Regions from separate parts of the Homo sapiens genome. Here region 2 is linked to region 1. Evidence: promoter capture Hi-C in 16 types of primary human blood cells and fetal thymus (Javierre and others, 2016). All regions are on one chromosome and are shown on one strand. The core of a region is centred on a gene start or on the middle of the fragment in contact, and the rest is flanking DNA. Distances in the headings are between cores, read along the strand shown.

Region 1 (3,477 bases), core at 332-2,831:
AGTACCTGGAACAGTGTCTGGTATATCGCGGATGTTTAGTAAGTCTTGAGAGGCTCACTGAGTGAACAGTGTTAATTTTCATGGTTTAAAACTTTATATAAATGGTACCATACTCGCTGCCGTACTTGCTGTCGTACTCGCTGCCGTACTGTGCACTTGCATTTTTGCTCCGCGTTCTGTTTTTGGCATTTATCCACATTGATCCATGTAGCTCTCATTTATTTTAACTGCCATGTGGTATTTCGCTGTATATGCCCATTTCTTTATCGCTTCTCCCCGTGTTGGATATTCAGGGTGTGTCCGGTGCTTTGGACACACAGTGTTGTGAGGAATATTCTGTACGCATCTTCTAGCACATGCATACTTCTTGTGGTAGTTTCTCTCTCACAGTGGATGGCCTATTAGAATGACTAGGGAATTCTTAGCTATTAGTTTGTTCCCAGAAGTTCTGGTTCAATTGATCTGGTCTGGGTTCAGTGCTGCAGAAATGTTTTTTCTTTTAAAGACATTCCTGGATGACTTTAACGACAGCCGGGGTTGAGAACCACGGCTCCTGGCTCGAAGGAGCAGATCTATGTTTGTGTTCTTGGGCATATCTAGAAAGAGATATGCTTTCTTTCTGGCTTGTCATCTACTTGCTTCAATTTTCCTAAAGGTTGCTTTCAAAGTGGTGGCACCATGCGTGATCCCAGCGGTGAATGCAGATTCCCACGTTTTCATTAACATTCTTTAAGTTGTTTGACCCTTGGGGTTTTCTGATAGGATGAGGGTGAAACGCATCCTCTTGTTCCCACAGCGTTCCCCTAATTCCGGGGGCTGAGTTTATTGATCGTTCAAGCATCTTCTTTTGTGACGGGACCGCTGATGTCCTTGACTCAAAGATGTTAAAAATACGTTTAGAAGGATCTTTATTTTTTCCTGCTGCTGTACGAGGCACCCTTTCTGGCCCCGTGTTTCCTTGCCCTTCTTTCCAGCAGCAGATTTTACTCAGAACAACTTCAGTGCTGTGGACACAAAGACGCAGGCCTTGGAGAGGCGGGTCAGCCCTGCCTCGGGGCTGCTGAGTGAGGTGCCAGATGCGTTTGTTCCTCATTTACTCATTTGCGTTTGTTCCTCATTTACTCGTTCCTCGCAGACTGGGTTGTAACACCATGTACCACCCTCTGAACCCAGAGATCAAGGGCTGGCTGGCCCTGTAGCCCCAAGGAGCTCCGTCACCGGCCAATGGGGAGGCGAACCCGTGGTGACCCACTCAGCGGCACCGCCAAGGGCTGAGCGTGGCGCCAGCGGCGGAAGGCCCGGGGTCACCGTCCCAGGCCGGGGCTCCGACCCCGAGTCCGCAGGGTCCTCTCCAGGCACCTTCCATCTGGGGTCTGGCTTCCACTCCCGGCCGCGGCGTCCTGATTTCCAGAAACCAGGCGGCCGCTGGAGGGGAGAAGGGGGAGCGGGCGCAGCGGGGGAGGGAGGAGAAGAAACGCCGGAGAAGGGAGAGTAGAGCGAGGAAGGACGCGAGGCGGGCGGAGCGCGGGGAGGTGCAGGGGGCGGGGAAGGGGCGGCGCCGCGAGGGCGGCTCCTGGCGGCGGGACTGTGGCTGTGGCCCCGGGAGAGCCGGGTGGGGCCTCGGGATGCAGCCGCCGGTGCCCGGGCCCCTGGGCCTGCTGGACCCCGCAGGTGAGCGCGGGGCTGGGGGCTCGTCTCGGCTCCTGCGGGGGAGCGTGGGGACCCCGGGGCTGGGACTACAGGTCCCCGGCCGGCCCGGGCGGAACCTGCGCGGAGACGCGGCACGGGGTCTGGTCCCTCCGCCTCCTTCGAGCTCTGTCTTTGGAACACTTTGCATTTCGCACTGGGGTCGGGCGTTCGTCCTACCGGTTCGTTCATTCATTCTCTCTCCCTGTCTCTCTCTCTGTCTCTGTCTCTGTCTCTCTCGCTCTTTCTGTCTCTGCCTCCTCAGTCTTTGCCTTTCTCTGACTCTGTGTCCGTTCCTCTTGGCCTCTCTCTCCCTGTTACGTTTTATTATGAGGAACAGGCGCCCCAAAGTGCGCTCCTTCCCCATCTCTTCCGTTTATTCCAACCTACACCATTTTCCGGGAAAACTTCGTTTGGAAGAGCGAGGTAGCCTTTTCCTGTTTGAACGTGCAGAGGCGCTCACAGAACTGGACAGTGTTGCTTGGTTTCGGCTCGCCCCTCTCTCGTGTTTCTCCCCGGTGTGTTCACGGAATCTCCAATTCTTCCACTTCCCAGACCAAGCCCGCTGCAGCCTCGGAGCCAGGCAAAGGCTGGGAAAACAGGAAACCTGTTGCGTGTTCACCAGTTCGCAAGCCGGGCTCGGGGGCTCTGCCGGGAAGTGGCCAGGACTGGAAGGATGCCGGGTGTCTTCCTGAGGGGGAGAGGGCTGGGCAGATTTCAGAACAAAAGAGAAACAGAGTTCCCTAGAAAGTGAAGCCCTGACGGCTGGAGGGAGGGATGGAGTGGTGTCTAGGGGGCTCTGCCGCTCCCTCAGAAATAATCCAACACAAACTTCTGGGGATTAACCTCACAACCCTTTTACTGCGGCATCGTTCGGAACCGGACGAATTACTGTTACTTAAAATAATCAAATAATTTGGCTTCTTTCTAAAAGAAACCACTATATGCCTTCCAATCTAAAGCAAAATGCTCTATGGTCAAATGTATTAATGTGGATTAGTCTATTGGTGTTTAATAATGATAACTATTATTATTATTTATTAACTAGTTTTATCATTATTAGAATGCCTTAATGTTTAAAAATAGCATCTGACTTAGATTTTCTTCTGACAAAGAACTTTAAACCTTAAAACAATACTTGGAGCTGGTCTTTTTAGTATATGAAACATTGGTGTATCTGGGTAGGATTATGGGTCTTTTTGTTTGGAGCTGGTCTTTTACTAAAATGTATAAAGCATTGGTGTGTCTGGGGTTGGATTATGGTCTTTCTGCTTTGGTGTGTCGGGGTGGATTATGGTCTTTCTGCTTTGGGGTATCTGGGGGTGGGTTATGGTCTTTCTGCTTTGGGGTATCTGGGGGTGGATTATGGTCTTTCTGCTTTGGGGTATCTGGGGGTGGATTATGGTCTTTCTGCTTTGGTGTGTCTGGGGGTGGATTATGGTCTTTCTGCTTTGGGGTATCGGGGGTGGGTTATGGTCTTTCTGCTTTGGGGTATCTGGGGGTGGATTATGGTCTTTCTGCTTTGGTGTGCCTGGGGGTGGATTATGGTCTTTCTGCTTTGGTGTGTCTGGGGGTGGGTTATGGTCTTTCTGCTTTGGTGTGTCTGGAGGTAGATTGTGGGTTTTTCTGCTTTGGGGTATCTGGGGGTGGACCATAGTCTTTCTGCTTTGGGGTACCTGGGGGTAGGATTATGGGTTTTTCTGCTTTGCCCTTCTTTGTTCACTACCCTGGGCATGTGTAAAATCAGGACGAAAGAGGAATTGACGGCTGAGTGATTACAGTTTTACCTGG
Region 2 (3,477 bases), core at 653-3,152, 570 kb after region 1:
CTTCAAATTCTCCCTAGAGATACTATCAAATAAAGCACGCACTGTTCTAGACTTAAAATTATGCAGTTATAGAATGGACTGACAGCATTTTATTCAGAATTACAGTTCATGAAAATAATTTATTCCTACTTTATTGCAGCAGTATTGAAAGTTTTTAAAGAATATAACCGTGTGTGTTGGTAACAGACAGAAGAATGGAAGCATTCCAGGAACTTCGTAAACCATCAGCACGTTTGGAGTGTGACCATTGCAGTTTCAGAGGCACAGACTATGAAAATGTACAAATCCATATGGGTACCATCCATCCAGAATTTTGTGATGAAATGGATGCTGGTGGGCTAGGCAAAATGATATTTTACCAGAAAAGTGCAAAGTTATTTCACTGCCATAAATGCTTCTTCACCAGCAAGATGTACTCTAATGTATACTATCACATCACATCCAAACATGCATCCCCAGACAAATGGAATGATAAACCAAAAAATCAGTTGAACAAAGAAACAGATCCTGTGAAAAGCCCTCCTCTTCCTGAACACCAGAAAATACCCTGCAATTCAGCAGAACCAAAATCCATACCTGCCCTTTCAATGGAAACACAGAAACTTGGTTCAGTTTTGTCTCCAGAATCGCCAAAACCTACTCCTCTTACTCCCCTGGAGCCTCAGAAACCTGGCTCTGTTGTTTCTCCTGAGCTACAGACACCTCTTCCTTCTCCTGAGCCTTCAAAACCTGCCTCTGTTTCTTCTCCTGAACCTCCAAAATCAGTCCCTGTTTGTGAGTCTCAGAAACTTGCCCCTGTTCCTTCTCCAGAACCACAGAAACCTGCCCCTGTATCTCCTGAGTCAGTAAAGGCTACTCTTAGTAATCCCAAACCCCAGAAGCAGTCTCATTTCCCGGAAACATTGGGGCCACCTTCAGCCTCATCTCCAGAGTCACCAGTTCTAGCTGCTTCCCCAGAACCTTGGGGACCATCCCCAGCTGCATCTCCAGAATCTCGGAAGTCAGCCCGGACTACCTCCCCTGAGCCAAGGAAGCCATCCCCTTCAGAGTCTCCTGAACCTTGGAAGCCGTTCCCTGCTGTCTCCCCAGAGCCTAGGAGACCAGCCCCCGCTGTGTCACCAGGCTCTTGGAAACCAGGGCCACCTGGGTCCCCTAGGCCTTGGAAATCCAATCCTTCAGCATCATCAGGACCTTGGAAGCCAGCTAAACCTGCTCCATCTGTGTCTCCTGGACCTTGGAAACCAATTCCTTCTGTATCTCCTGGACCTTGGAAACCAACTCCATCTGTGTCTTCTGCATCCTGGAAATCTTCATCAGTCTCACCCAGCTCCTGGAAGTCTCCCCCTGCATCTCCTGAGTCATGGAAGTCTGGCCCACCAGAACTCCGAAAGACAGCTCCCACGTTGTCTCCTGAACATTGGAAGGCAGTTCCCCCAGTGTCTCCAGAGCTTCGCAAACCCGGCCCACCACTATCCCCAGAGATCCGTAGTCCAGCAGGATCTCCAGAGCTCAGAAAACCCTCAGGGTCACCAGATCTTTGGAAGCTTTCTCCTGATCAGCGGAAAACTTCTCCTGCTTCACTTGATTTCCCTGAGTCCCAGAAAAGTTCCCGTGGTGGTTCTCCTGATCTCTGGAAGTCTTCCTTTTTTATTGAGCCTCAGAAACCTGTCTTCCCTGAGACCCGAAAACCAGGTCCTTCTGGGCCATCTGAGTCCCCCAAAGCAGCCTCAGATATCTGGAAGCCTGTTCTCTCTATCGATACTGAGCCTAGAAAACCTGCCCTGTTTCCCGAGCCTGCCAAAACAGCCCCTCCTGCTTCTCCAGAAGCACGCAAACGTGCCCTTTTTCCAGAGCCCCGGAAGCATGCCCTTTTCCCTGAACTCCCCAAATCTGCTCTATTCTCAGAATCACAGAAGGCTGTTGAGCTTGGTGATGAACTACAAATAGATGCCATAGATGATCAAAAATGTGATATTTTGGTTCAGGAAGAACTTCTAGCTTCACCTAAGAAACTCTTAGAAGATACTTTATTTCCTTCCTCAAAGAAGCTCAAGAAAGACAACCAAGAGAGCTCAGACGCTGAGCTTAGTAGTAGTGAGTACATAAAAACAGATTTGGATGCGATGGATATTAAGGGCCAGGAATCAAGCAGTGATCAAGAGCAGGTTGATGTGGAATCCATTGATTTTAGCAAAGAGAACAAAATGGACATGACTAGTCCAGAGCAGTCTAGAAATGTGCTACAGTTTACTGAAGAAAAAGAAGCTTTTATCTCTGAAGAGGAGATTGCAAAATACATGAAGCGTGGAAAAGGAAAGTATTATTGCAAAATTTGTTGCTGTCGTGCTATGAAAAAAGGTGCTGTTTTGCATCATTTGGTTAATAAGCATAATGTTCATAGCCCTTACAAATGCACAATCTGTGGAAAGGCTTTTCTTTTGGAATCTCTCCTTAAAAATCATGTAGCAGCCCATGGGCAAAGTTTACTTAAATGTCCACGTTGTAATTTTGAATCAAATTTCCCAAGAGGTTTTAAGAAACATTTAACTCATTGTCAAAGCCGGCATAATGAAGAGGCAAATAAAAAGCTAATGGAAGCTCTTGAACCGCCACTGGAGGAGCAGCAAATTTGATAACACAGTGTGAATATTTGTTCTACAAAGGTGTTTGTTGGAACCATTCTTTGTAAGTATAGCTTATCAGATAGCATAGTTGGATCAGTAGATGACATGTATGGTGTACCGTGTTTCACTGTCTCAGTTGTGTTACTAAGAATGAGCATTTGATCATTTTTTTCTGGTCTCTGTCTATGTGACTATCTTGTAAGTCAATAAATTTCTGTATAGTCCAGATGGATTAAACTTCTCATTTCTTTTAAATATGTATGAATAATAATACAAGGAAGTAGGCATTCCATTTAATAATCAAGAGCAAGTTGTACTCAAAGCATTCAGTTAAAGTGTATCTGTGTGTGGAACTAATTTCAGACAATAGAAAATATTAGTTGAAATGTTTAAGAATTAGGCATGAAAAATAAATTTGAGAAATTTTGTTTCCTTACATGTATTTTTAAATCATAAGAGTTATTTTCTATCTGATGTAAAATTAGTTTATAAATCTTAATCAGCTTCTAGATGTTTATTAGCTTTTATGTCATGAAATGTTGGAGTCTCAGGGTTGCTGATTTTCTGCTAATGGGAAAAATTGACTAAGTCTTTAAAATAGTTTGCAGCCTTCTCCCACAGGAGACAAGTGAAAGATAAGTGTGATTTTAGATCTTTCTTGTCCATAGTTGTTTTCAGTGGAGTCTTCCATTCTGTATCTTACCCTAAGATCTGGTTCTTCCCTCCCCATCCCCACCCCCCACCCACCGCCTGCCAGCTCACACTAATAGATGATTCTTAATTGCCAAATGTGTTAGAGTTTGTATATCCTACTCCTGGGCCTTACATGTCGCCTGTTGGGGCTTAAGACCAG

The links. Contacts are between HindIII fragments. The CHiCAGO score rates a contact against its expected background, and 5 or more counts as called.
Region 2: a fragment that was not itself captured here is called in contact with the fragment with the promoter of TMEM255B in region 1 in 2 of 17 cell types (naive CD8 T cells and naive CD4 T cells); the score reaches 8.4 in naive CD8 T cells.

The regions. Positions count from the first base shown.
Region 1 is chr13:113,757,645-113,761,121 of GRCh38, forward strand. TMEM255B (transmembrane protein 255B) reads left to right here and starts at 1,582. Exons shown (of 9, transcript NM_182614.4): 1 at 1,582-1,671. The coding sequence starts at 1,626. RefSeq lists enhancers at 742-1,243, 1,800-2,301. The HindIII fragment of the contact is 10,322 bases long and covers 1-3,477 here.
Region 2 is chr13:114,323,649-114,327,125 of GRCh38, forward strand. It overlaps CHAMP1 (chromosome alignment maintaining phosphoprotein 1), which reads left to right. Exons shown (of 3, transcript NM_032436.4): 3 at 140-3,477. The coding sequence starts at 195. The coding sequence ends at 2,633. Among named protein-coding and RNA genes, the nearest start is that of LINC01054, 8.6 kb to the right of the region's middle. The HindIII fragment of the contact is 721 bases long and covers 1,543-2,263 here.